2 separate regions of the Homo sapiens genome follow, and region 1 is linked to region 2. The links are contacts of gene promoters, found by promoter capture Hi-C in blood cells and fetal thymus (Javierre and others, 2016). All regions are on one chromosome and are shown on one strand. The core of a region is centred on a gene start or on the middle of the fragment in contact, and the rest is flanking DNA. Distances in the headings are between cores, read along the strand shown.

Region 1 (5,972 bases), core at 247-2,746, 91 kb before region 2:
AAGTAAGGCCTACTGCTGCTTGTTTAGTCTCCATAGGTGCTTTTTTATTTTTTTCTTCTTCTTTATTAGTATGTTATGTATTTGTGAAAAACAAAACAGTTCTAGTAATAATGTAAGACAAATATAAGATTAGTAGTATTGAGCTTGATTCATCTGAAGAGGATTTTATGAAAATAAACCACTATGGCAGGACTGCAAGATAATTTTTTGTTCTTCAGAATGTTCATTAACTGCTGGATTCAGAGAGAGAATGAAGACTTCAGTAGATCCTGTATGTATAGCAGGAGGCCATGTCCCACCAGCAGAAATGAAACTGCTTGAACTAACAAGTTGTCTCAGTCCGAATTCTCTTTATCTTGAATATTTTAAATGTGGAGTTTTGTTTTTCTTTTATATTTACAATTATATTTAGGTTATTTCAGGGACACTTATTGTAGGACTTGTGTGTCTGATCCAGTGCATTTGATCTTGCTTCTTTTACAATGGATGTAACCAAGGAAACTAATGGGTGACCCTCTCTGAGTTTTAGTTCATAATTGTGACAGTTGTCATTCTGAAAAGCTTCATACTCTATTTTTGCTTGTAGTTAAATAGTATAGAACATTTTATGTTACTCCCATAGAATGTTCCAGAAATTCATGAAATGTTAAAAGCAGCAGTAGTATGTTAACATTAACAAAGCATGAAAAATAAATAAATAAAATAAATGTCTGTCCAATGAGAAATACTGCAGCCACAGAAGAGGGAGGTTTGTTTGCTTCTAGCCTATCATGAGATAAGTACATGAATTGAGAGTAAGTGTTAAAGACCTCTTCTTGGCCGGGCATGGTGGCTCACGCCTGTAATCTGAGTACTTTGGGCAGCTGAGGTGGGTGGATCACTTGCGGTCAGGAGGTTGAGACAAGCCTGGCCAACATGGTGAAACCTGGTCTCTACAAAAATACAAAAAATTAGCTGGGCATGGTGGCGGGCGCCTATAACCCCAGCTATTGGGAGGCTGAGGCAGGAGAATCGCTTGAGCCTGGGAGGCGGAGGTTGTGGTGGGCCAGGATCACGCTACTTTACTCCAGTCTGGGCGATGGAATGAGACACAGTCTCAAAAAAAAAAAAAAAATCCATTAATATAGGAGCATTATTAACTGCCCTTACTGCCTTTTCAGGCAAAAGGGATTCTATGAAATATTTTTACGAATATCTTAGAATATGCAACTGAATTTGATTGGTTAACACTGAAATAAACTTGCTATTAAAAAGAAAACTAAGGCCCAGTATGGAGGCTCACGCCTGTAATCCCAGCACCTTGGGAGGCCAAGGCAGGTTGGATCACCTGAGGTCAGGAGTTTAAGACCAGCCAGGCCAACATGGTGAAACCCTGTCTCTACTAAAAATACAAAAAATTAGTCGGGCGTTGTAGCGGGCACCTATAATCCCAGCTACTTACTTGGGATGCTGAGGCAGGAGAATTGCTTGAACCCGGGAGGCACAGGTTGCAGTGAGCCGAAATTGCACTGTTGCACTCTAGCCTGGACAACATGTGTGAAACTCCATCTCAACTAAAGAAAAAAAAGGAAAACTAGGCCGGGTGCAGTGGCTTAATGCCTGTAATCCCAGCACTTTGGGAGGCCAAGGTAGGTGGCTCACTTGAGGCCAGGAGTTTGAGACCAGCCTGGCCAACATGGCGAAACCCCGTCTCTACTAAAAATACAAAAATTAATCAGGCATGGTGGTGCATGCCTGTAATTCCAGCTACTCGGGAGGCTGAGGCAGGAGAATTGCTTGAACCCAGGAGGCAGAGGTTAAAGACCCTGTCTCAAAAAAAAAAAAAAAAAAAAAAAAAAAGGAAAACTAGGCTGTGTGAAGGGTGAAGGTGGCTCATGCCTGTGATCCCAGCACTTAGGGAGGGTGAGATGGGAGGATCACTTGAGTCCAGGAATTTGAGACCAGCCTGGGTAACATAAGGAGACCCCATCTTTTAAAAATAAAAAAAAAAAAAAAACAAAAATAGCCAGTTGTGGTGGTGCGCGCCTGTAGTCCCAGCTATTTGGGAGACTGATATAGGAGGATTGCTTGAGCCCAGGAGTTTGAGGCTACAGTGGGCTGTGATTGAGGTACTGCACTCCAGCCTGGGCCACAGAGTGAGACCCTGTCTCAATATCCTCCACCTGCCACCCCACCCCTCCACAAAAAACAAACAAACAAAAAAACTAAAAATATGTATACTATTAAGCTCTTAGTAAAAGTTTCCTTTCATAGAAAATATAGAATTTTTGCATTCACTTTGCACTTTGAATCAGTTTTTTCCCGGTTTAGAAACAACCCTAATGAGAGACAATTCATTTGGAAAATTGGATGGGTTCCAGTTTTTTTGCTGTCAGAGAATTGGATAAATAGCCTATATCATGTGATAATTACTATAAAGCAATGAAGCTTGACAGTGAGGTGAGGGATTTGAAAACATACAGTTAATAAGCAAGGCGAATTACTACCCTGTTTGTAAATATGGATACATTTCCAAGAGTGAAAAAAAGAAGTTGATACCATTTATGTTAAATATAACCAAAACATGTTACATGTTATCTGGCTACATGTAAATATACATAAAACAAGTGGACTAGAAGGCTGCACAGGACTTGCAGTGGGACCTCTGGGAATAGGGGGAGCAGGATCCACCCGGAGCTGGAAGGGGCCGTAGAGCTAGAGTTCCCTGTTCTTATTTAAAAATCTTCATGTCCTTGGGCCAGGCGCGGTGGCTCACGCCTGTAATCCCAGCACTTTGGGAGGCCGAGGCAGGTGGATCACAAGGTCATGAATTCAAGACCAGCTTGGCCAGGATGGTGAAACCCCATCTGTACTAAAAATACAAGAATTAGCCGGGCATGGCGGCAGGCGCCTGTAATCCCAGCTACTAGAGAGGCTGAGGCAGGAGAATTGCTTGAACCTGGGAAGTGGAGGTTGCAGTGAGCCAAGACTGCACCATTGCACTCCAGCCTGGGCAACAGCGAGACTCCGTCAAAAAACAAAACAAAACAAAAAAAAACTTCATGTCCTTATATATTTGTGTAATTTAGAAAAGAACATAAACAACAAATATGGGAAAAGATGAACAATGGTTAATTCTGTGGAGTGGGAGCATGGTGGGTGATTATTTTGTTTATGCTTTTAGGTATGTTTCCAACCATCAAACCAAAAAAAAAAGAAAAAGAGAAACAGATCCTTGATCTTAACAGGAAATGGCTGTCATTATGAGTATTATTTCTATTCCCTGTTTTCATAGAAAATGTGGACACAGACTTGCCAGGCAGCCTGGGGCAGAGTGAAGAGAAGCCCGTGCCTGCTGCGCCTGTGCCCAGCCCGGTGGCCCCGGCCCCAGTGCCATCCAGAAGAAATCCCCCTGGCGGCAAGTCCAGCCTCGTCTTGGGTTAGCTCTGACTGTCCTGAACGCTGTCGTTCTGTCTGTTTCCTCCATGCTTGTGAACTGCACAACTTGAGCCTGACTGTACATCTCTTGGATTTGTTTCATTAAAAAGAAGCACTTTATGTACTGCTGTCTTTTTTTTTTTTCTTTTGAAGAACAGGTTTCTCTCTGTCCTTGACTCTTGGGTCTGTGGGCCATGGCATGAGTGTTTTCTAGTAGTAGATTGGAGGGAAAGCTTTGTGACACTTAGTACTGTGTTTTTAAGAAGAAATAATTTGGTTCCAGATGTGTTAGAGGATCTTTTGTACTGAGGTTTTTAACACTTTACTTGGGTTTACCAAGCCTCAACTGGACAGACCATAAACAGTCCACAGGCACCGTTCCTGCCAGGCCCCAACCCACAGGGAGTCTCTCCGCAGAGCCTTCTTGGTGTTGCCCTAACTTGCCAGTGGCCTTTGCTCAGAGCCTCCTCCTGTGACATGTGAACAATGAAGAGGCCTGCGCCTCCTGCCTTGCCGCCTGCAAAGCAAAGAAACTGCCTTTTATTTTTTAACCTTAAAAAGTAGCCAGATAGTAACAAGACTGGCTGGCTGATGAGCAAAGCCTTTGCTCTCACGCAGAGGAAGGCTTGGATGTACAATGAAACTGCCTGGAACTAAAAGCAGTGAAGCAAGGGAGGCAATCACACTGAAGCGGGTCTTCCTCCAGGAACGGGGTCCCACAGGCGTGTTGTTTTAAATAACCTGATGCTGTGTGCATGATGCTGGTGCTTGACCATGAAAGGAAAGTCTCATCCTTAAAATGTGTTGTACTTCACAATCCTGGACTGTTGCTTCAAGTAAACAATATCCACATTTTGAAACACTGTGTACTGTGTCTTCTTTTTGAGATGGTTTCAGTGTTCTCCCTGGTTAGATGCTTTTCTCTTTGTCACTATAAATCCTGCCTACTGATTGGAGGAGTCATTTGAAGTTAAATAGCCAGATGTGCCTGTAATTAGCTACTTGGGAAGCCAAGGCAAGAGGATGCTTGAGCCCAGGAGTTTGAGACTATCCTGGGCAACATAGCGAGACCTCCTTAAAAAACAAAATCTTAAAACAGATGAAGACCCAGAGAGGAGTGGGTTTCTTTCTGAAGAAGGCTCTAAAGATGAGCAGGTTAGACTCTTCTACCTCCCCTTTGTTCTGGGCAGTAACATTTTAAAGTGTTCTCCAAGACTGGGCAACATGGTGAAACCTCGTCTCTACCAAAAATAGCCAGGTGTGATGGCACACGCCTGTAGTCGGGAGGCTGAGGCAGGAGGATTGCTTCACCCTGTGAGATCAAGGCTGCAGTGAGCCATGATCGCACCACTGTACTCCAGCCTGGGTGACAGCAAGACCCTGTCTCAAAAAAAGTTCTCCAACTTTAAATATGCGGGGATTTCTCCCCACCAGCAAGCAAGCAAGCAAGCAATTCTGCAGTGGATACCAGCTAGGTGTCCTCCAATTTTTTTTTTTTTTTAAGACAGTGTCTCAGTCTGTCGCCCAGGCTGAAGTGCAGTGGCACAATCTGCTCACTGCAACCTCTGCCTTCTGGGTTCCAGCGATTCTCCTGCCTCACCCTCCCGAGTAGCTGGGACTACAGGCATGTGCCACCACACCCAGCTAATTTTTGTATTTTTAGTAGAGACAGGGTTTATGCCATGTTGCCCAGGCTGGTGTCGAACTCCTGACCTCAAGTAATCTGCCCACCTCGACTTCCCAAAGTGCTGGGATTATAGGCATGAGCCACCTCACCTGGCCCTCCAATTCAATTCTGACAATCAGTTACCTGGAGATAGCTTTGATTCCACAAGTTGAGGGCTCAGCCCCCAAGACTGCTTCCCCTTGAGATAACTCGCAAGTCTGGGCCTCCAAAATGTCTGCGTATCTATGAGTCATATGCATGTTGACTTGAGCCCCTCTTAGACTGGTTTGTCAGGCTTTTTTTTTTTCTGAGATGGAGTCTGGCTCTGTCACCCAGGCTGGACTGCAGTGGCATGATCTTGGCTCACTGCAACGTCTGTCTCCCGGGTTCAAGCAATTCTCCTGCCTTGGCCTCCTGAGTAGCTGGGATTTGTAGGCATGTCCCACCATGCCCGGCTAGTTTTTGTATTTTTAGTAGAGATGGGGTTTCACCATGTTGGTCAGGCTGGTCTCGAACTCCTGACTTTGTGATCCACCTGCCTCGGCCTCCCAAAATGCTGGGATTACAGGCGTGAGCCACTGCACCCGGCCCTGTCAGGTTTTTTTGTGTGTGTGATGCTTCTATTACATGTTTTGTTTGTTTGTTTGTTTGAGACGGAGTCTCGCTGTGGCCCAGGCTGGAGTGCAGTGGCGTGGTCTTGGCTCACTGTAATCTCTGCCTCCCGGGTTCATGCCATTCTCCTACCTCAGCCTCCTGAGTAGCTGGGACTACAGTCACCCGCCACCATGCCCAGCTAATTTTTTTTTTTTTTTTGTATTTTTAGTAGAGACAGGGTTTCACCGTGTTAGCCAGGATGGTCCTGATCTCCTGACCTCATGATCCGCCCGCC
Region 2 (6,709 bases), core at 3,714-6,213:
GGTATGTTCTGCTCACTCCATTTCAACCCTCCTTTCCCTACCTGGCACCTGCCCATTAGCTGCAGGACACTTTTCCCATATGTCACTTAGTTCCTGGAACTAGTCATGTTGGACACCTCCTGAACTTGATATTTTTGTCCAATCTGCCCTCAAAAGGACTGGGGGTGGGGGTGGAGGTGTGTGTACAAATTTATGTGGGCCAAACTTAATAGGATGCTAATCATTTGAACAATATAAAAGGCAACCATTTAAAGACTTGCATGCTAAATGAACTCAAAGGCCTTAGGGCAACTATGAGACGTGTGATCCTATAGGAATAAATTTGCTATAAAGGCCATTATTAGGACAACTGACAAAACTGCAATATAAGCTGTAGATAAAAGCATCAGTATTAAATTTCCTGAGTTTGATAACTGTACTGTCTGTGGTTACATAAAACAGTATCCTTGTTCTTGGGAAATATATACAAATATTAAGGGGTGAAATCTGCAATCTATTCTCAAATAGTTCAGAAATAACTGTGGTGGGAGAGGCAAGAGGATGGGGGTAGGGAGGGGGAAATAGAGAATGAAGGACAATGCAAATATGATTTAAAAAAAAAAAAGGTCGGGCATGGTGGCTCACGCCTGTAATCGCAGCATTTCGGGAGGCCAAGGCGGGTGGATCACGAGGTCAGGAGTTCAAGACCAGCCTGACCAACATGGTGAAACCCCCGTCTCTACCAAAAATAAAAAAATTAGCCAGGCGTGGTGGCATGCACCTGTAATCCCAGGTACTCAGGAGGCTGAGGCAGGAAAATCGCTTGAACCCGGGAGGTGGATGTCGCAGTGAGCTGTGATAGTGCCATTGCACTCCAGCCTGGGCAACAGAGGGAGACTCTGTCGCCAAAAAAAAAAAAAAAAAAAAAAAAGGTCGGGCGCGGTGGCTCATGTCTGTAATCCCAGTACTTTGGGAGGCTGAGGCAGGCAGATCACAAGGTCAGGAGATCGAGATGAGACCATCCTGGCTAATATGGTGAAACCCTGTCTCTACTAAAAATACAAAAAATTAACTGGGTGTGGTGGTGGGCGCCTATAGTCCCAGCTACTCGGGAGGCTGAGGCAGGAGAATGACGTGAACCTGGGAGGTGGAGCTTGCAGTGAGCCGAGATTGCGCCACTGCACTCCAGCCTGGGCAACAGAGCAAGACTCCGTCTCAAAAAAAAAAAAAAAGCTGGGCATGATGGCTCATGCCTATAATCGCAGCTACTCAGGAGGCTGAGGCAGGAGGAGCATGTGAGGCCAGACATTTGAGACCAGCCTGGGCAAGATAAGATAGACTCTGACTCTTAAAAAAACAACAAAAAGATCTCCCCATACCCCAAATATGACAAAAATAACATTGAAAATTGGTTAATCTGGGATATAGGGAGTTCTCTGTGTTATTCTTGCTCTTTTCTTGCTTATTTTGAAGTTTTAAATTACTTCAAAATAAAGTTTTTTTAATTAAAGGCATTAGAAAAGATACTTAACTAAAAGAGGGTAATTGAATTTTTGTATCACAAAGGATAAATGCTTGAGGGGATGGATACCCCATTCTCCATGATGTGCTTATTTCACACTGCATGCCTATATCCAAACATCTCAGGTCGGGCGCGGAGGCTCAGGCCTGTAATCCCAGCACTCTGGGAGGCTGAGGCAGGTGGATCACTTGAGGTTAGGAGTTCAAGACCAGCCTGGTCAACATGGTGAAACCCTGTCTCTACTAAAAATACAAAAAATTAGTCAAGCATGGTGGTGCACGCCTGTAATCCCAGCTACTTGGGAGGCTGAGGCAGGAGAATCGCTTGAACCCAGGAGGCTGAGGTTGCAGTGAGTCAAGATTGTGCCAGTGCACTCCAGCCTGAGCGAAGAAAAAAAAAAGAAAAATCTCATGTACCCCATAAATATATACACCTACTAGGTACTTACAAAAATTAAAAAAGAAAAATAAATAAGATTAAGATCACCCATGAGTTGGTAATTGTTGAAGCTGGATAGTGGATGCAAGGAATTCACTGTATGTACTATTCCCATTACTTCTGTATGCGTTTGAAATATTGTTTAAAAAGGGACATTTAAAAAAAGAGAGAGAGAGCAATTCCTCTTTCTACTAGCTGAAACAGAGTTGTTTCACAGTCACTTCATTAACTAGTACAGCCATTACAAGCTTTCTTACTCAGAGCCAAAGCTCCCAGATCAGGGTGCCCTGGATTTAGGGACAGTCCCCTTTACAACTGAATGCCTTCAGTGGGACCATGCCAAGCCTTGTAGAAAGTGGACTAGACCCACTTATAGTCCCAATGCCCTACAAACCACAAAGATGAGGCAAGTAATGATACACCTGACAATGAACTAGAGAATGAATTAGGTCAGCTGCAAACATTTACAGGGAAGCATGAGGCCAGAGTCTTAAAAGAAATGAGGCCAAGCCTTTATTATTTTTGTACAACTGTGAGTTCAAACCAAAATTAAAACTATAAATAATTGAATGTCAGAGATGTCTTGCTTCTTCAGACTACAGACACTCACTGCTAGCACACAAACAAATGTAAAAAAAGGATCGTGACAATTCTGGAGATTCGGAAAGAACTCCTGAAGTTATCTGCAAAGCGGAGCTACCTATCTTCCTTCTCACCCAGGAAGCTGAACAAAGCCTAAGGAGGCTTCCTTAATCATGACTCCCTCAGACAAGACTGGTAGTTTCTGCTCTGTTTCATAAACCTGAAACTATACCTGCACATGCGCCTGATGAAAATGTCAAACAAAATTGAAATCTGTAAAACAACTTTAAAGATTCTACTTGCATTTTGAAAATCCCCAATGCAAACAGTGCGCTTACCTTCTTCTGCCAACTCCTTAGTGATGATGAGTTTCCCGTGGCGGAGGTAGTTGAGGATAGGACCAAAGTAGGTGGGGTCCCTGTCAATCAGATAGGCTCCTGTCTCATCCTGCCAACCAAACACAAGGGTATCATTGTGGACCTTTGAGGAGTATTTTAAACAAAGGCAGGGCAGGATTTCACCATCTTTGTCAGCGCCCCAAGACAACAATTCATTCCATCAGCTAAAAAAGACTTTAGTGATGGCAAATTTTGTTACACATTTGTCACAAACTATTGGTAAGAAAGCTATAGCTTTATGTATCTTGTACATTAAGATCATCTTAGGTAGGGTGTTACAGACAGTCATACTCATTTAGGCGTTTACTTACTGGCTGGAATTTGCAATCTTTGCCTGGACAATAATTACAGTGACAAACATTCTTCTGTAGCGTGTTTGTTATTAAGAAAGGGAGAAAATGCCGTAGCTGTGTAACTGAAATCTTTGCTTGAGATGGACATTCTGACTTTTCCACTGCCTCTGAACTGCATTCCTAATTCCAAGAAAACCTCTGTGTAGTTGGCAATGCTCCTGAGCTCAAGGCCAACATCAGTGGGAGTTTGCACTGCCAGCTGTAATCTCACACACCCCAGCTCTGTGCCCAGAGGAAGCTCGGTACTGCCAGGACTTGGCTCTGAGCAGCTTTAATCCTACTCATCTTTACAGTAAAAGGAACAAGAAGAAACTGGCTTCTATTACCACAAGGAGGATATAGAGTAGATAAAAATAATTCCTTTATAAGCAAGGGTTTTGAAATCTCTTTAAAGTTAGGGCAGGATAGGTTTCCATCAATCTGAGATTTCTTAGAGAAGAGGAATAAACGAAAACAACAAATGTTTACGCAACTCCAGCTCTGTTTTGAGGTCACCAGCTGAGTGCTATATGGGATATAAGATGGTGTGAGTTATGGTCAGTGCCTTTAAGTTGAGAACTTAAAGGTGAATACGTAAAGTTAAAAAGAAATTGACACAGTTCAAACTGGAAATGGTTTAAGTGTCTTGTCACCTCTCAACCCTTTGGTTAGCAGCCATGCATCCTGCCCAAAATTTTCCCGGGAAAATTTTCATTTTCCTTCTGTCTTAGCCTAGATTTGCAGCGGCAAACAGTAACCTCTTTCCAAAAAACGCATTTGATCTAAATATGGACCTAAACCAGTGACTGTTAACAGATAAAAGTTCTGCGACCAGGACTATAGAAAAGCAGTGTGATATCACAAGGAGCGCTTCCTGCAGCTGTGGAAGCCCAACTTGGCAGAGGGGTCCGAGAGGGAGTCTGAGAAAGCTACAAGGATGCCTGAGCTAACCCTGACCCAGTTCTGGATGCATCTGGCACCGGCAGTGGGGGGACTGAAGAGGAGCCAGGGAAAACTCATGCAGATCTCAGTGGGATGTCAGGGGCAGAGAATATGGAGAAGGGGTGTGGAGTGCGTTCTCGTGGGTGCAGGTGGGCGCAGTGTGGGAAGGAGTCTCAGAGAACGAAGGGCGGGGTCGGGGAGAAAGCCAGAGTATGCCTCAGCATGGAAGAAGGGGAGTGGGAGGTCCCTCTGAGGCCCCTGCGAGTAGTGTGGGAGGGAGGGGGAGGATGGGGTCCCGGCCTGAGGGGGCTGCCTGTGAGGAGCGTGTCTCAGGACTCTGGGGACCGATCTACGAGAAACCAGGGGGTTCGAAGGCCCGGGGGCGCGCCCGAGGGCGGGGCACACCTTGTCTGAGTCCAGCTCCGGGTCCTCCTGGCAGCAGAGGCGGCAGAGAAATGACTTGGGCTCCCGGCCTAAGGTCTGTCTGGTGGTCACGAAGTAGGTGCCTCCCACGTTCAGCCTGACCCAGCGGGCCGCGCCGCCGCCCCCTGCCCGCTCGGGTGGTCCGGGACCCGGCTCCAGCGGCTGCGCGACGGCGGCAGCCGGGCGGCCGTGCCCGCGGGGCGTGGGGCCAGCCGGGCGTGGGCTGGGGGGCCCGCGGACTGGGCCACCCCCGTCGCCCACCCCACTCCCGCCGCCCCCTCCCAGCCCCGCCATCGCCGGGTCCAGCTGCAGTTCCGCCATCTTGGACCGCCGCCGCCACCGCTGCTGCCCGCGCGCAGCCGGGCCGGCCCATTTCTCGGCAGGGAGAGCCGGGCCGGCCCATCGGCGGGGGTGGGGCAGAGGGGAGAGGGACGGGAGCGCCCCCAACCAGCGCCCGGGGACCCGCGCGGGGGAGGCGCTGTGCCCGCCCCCGGGAAGATACTTCCGGAACCAGCCCTCATCTCTATTGGCTGATCTGCGAAGCAAGGCCCACCCCCTTGGCTTTGGGGTTGGCTGAGGAAAGATCTTCCCGTGACCCACTTCCGTTACTTGCTGCGGAGGACCGTGGGCAGCCAGGGTCGGTGAAGGTGAGTGGGGCTTGGGGCATTGGATCCGATCCCTGGAGGGCTCCTCTGCTCTGCCCTCTCCAAACCTCACGCCGACCCTTGTCACGCCCCCGTCAAGGACGCTGGGCCCTCGGCTTGCCCCGCTGGCAGAGTGTCCCTTGTGTAGCTGCCGCTCCTCGCCCCGCGATCCCTTCCTCAGCCCTCCTTGGCGCGCGGGGTCAGGGGGGCCCGGCTGTGTCCCAGGCGCCGCTGATGTAGGCGCTGCCACAAGCCGTGTCTCGTGCAGTCCGCTCCCAGCGCGGCAGACTTCAATAGTTTGGTGGGGGGACTGGGGAAACATTACGCAGACAGTGTTAACCTGCCGAGGGACGCTCAGCTGGCTGCGGGGCTGCGCCCTTCCCCTTCGGCAGCTTCCAGGATTCGAACGTATAGAGCGTTCAGGGCTCCTCGGGTGCAGAGTTCGGTTACTCATTCAAGAAAGATTCATTGAGCACCTCCTATGCGCATGATCTGTTCTAGGCGCTGGGGATTAAGCAATAGATTTTTAAGAATTAAAAAAAATTTCGCCGGGCGCGGTGGCTCACGCCTGTAATCCCAGAATTTTAGGAGGCCAAGGCGGGCGAATCGCGAGGTCAGGAGTTCGAGACCAGCCTGGCCAACGTAGTGAAACCCCGCCTCTACTAAAAATACAAAAAATTAGCTGGGCGTGGTGGAAGGCCCCTATAATCCCAGCTGCTCGGGAGGCTGAGGCAGGAGAATCGCTTGAACCCGGGAGGCGGAGGTTGCAGTGAGCCGAGACCACGCCACTACACTCCAGCCCAGGCGACAGTGCGAGACTCCGTCTCACTCACACACACACACAAAGTTATTTGTGACTTCCATTTTCCACTGATGTTGCGGGAAATCAGGGACCCCAAACAGAGAGACCGGCTGAAACCATGGCAGAAGAACGTGGATTGTGAAGATTTTATGGACATTTATTAGTTCCCCAAATTAATACTTTTGTAATTTCTTATGCCTGTCTTTACTGCAATCTCTAAACATAAATTGTAGAGATTTCATGGACACTTATCACTTCCCCAGTCAATACTCTTCTGATTTCCTATGCCTGTCTTGTCTTTAATCTCTTAATCCTGTCAGTTGAGGATGTATATCGTTCCAGGACCCTGTAATAATTGTGTTAACTACAAAAATTGTACAGCATGTGTGTTTGAGCAATATGAAATGTGGGCACCCTGAAAAAAGAACAGGATAACAGCAATTGTTCAGGGAACAAGAGAGAACCTTAAACTCTGACCGCCGGTGAGCCGGGCAGAACAGAGCCATATTTCTCTTCCTTCAAAAGCAAATGGGAGAAATATCGCTGAATTCTTTTTCTCAGCATGGGATATCCCTGAGAAAGAGAATGCGCACCTAGGGGTAGGTCTCTGAACTGGCCCCCCTGGGGCGTACCTGTCTCTTATGGTT

Evidence for each region. Contacts are between HindIII fragments. The CHiCAGO score rates a contact against its expected background, and 5 or more counts as called.
Region 1: a contact is called between a fragment that was not itself captured here and the fragment with the promoter of KCTD2 in region 2, in 11 of 17 cell types (erythroblasts, endothelial precursors, M1 macrophages and 8 more). The highest score is 10.0, in erythroblasts.

What each region holds. Positions count from the first base shown.
Region 1 is chr17:75,133,553-75,139,524 of GRCh38, reverse strand. It overlaps JPT1 (Jupiter microtubule associated homolog 1), which reads left to right. Exons shown (of 5, transcript NM_016185.4): 5 at 3,275-4,277. The coding sequence ends at 3,423. It overlaps LOC107985034 (a long non-coding RNA gene), which reads right to left and starts at 3,275. Exons shown (of 2, transcript XR_007065907.1): 1 at 1-3,275. The HindIII fragment of the contact is 1,866 bases long and covers 564-2,429 here.
Region 2 is chr17:75,045,479-75,052,187 of GRCh38, reverse strand. KCTD2 (potassium channel tetramerization domain containing 2) reads right to left here and starts at 4,963. Exons shown (of 6, transcript NM_015353.3): 1 at 4,599-4,963; 2 at 2,860-2,968. The coding sequence starts at 4,937. ATP5PD (ATP synthase peripheral stalk subunit d) reads left to right here and starts at 5,219. Exons shown (of 6, transcript NM_006356.3): 1 at 5,219-5,263. RefSeq lists enhancers at 4,980-5,274, 5,159-5,744, 5,683-5,752 and a silencer at 4,853-5,282. The HindIII fragment of the contact is 5,200 bases long and covers 2,190-6,709 here.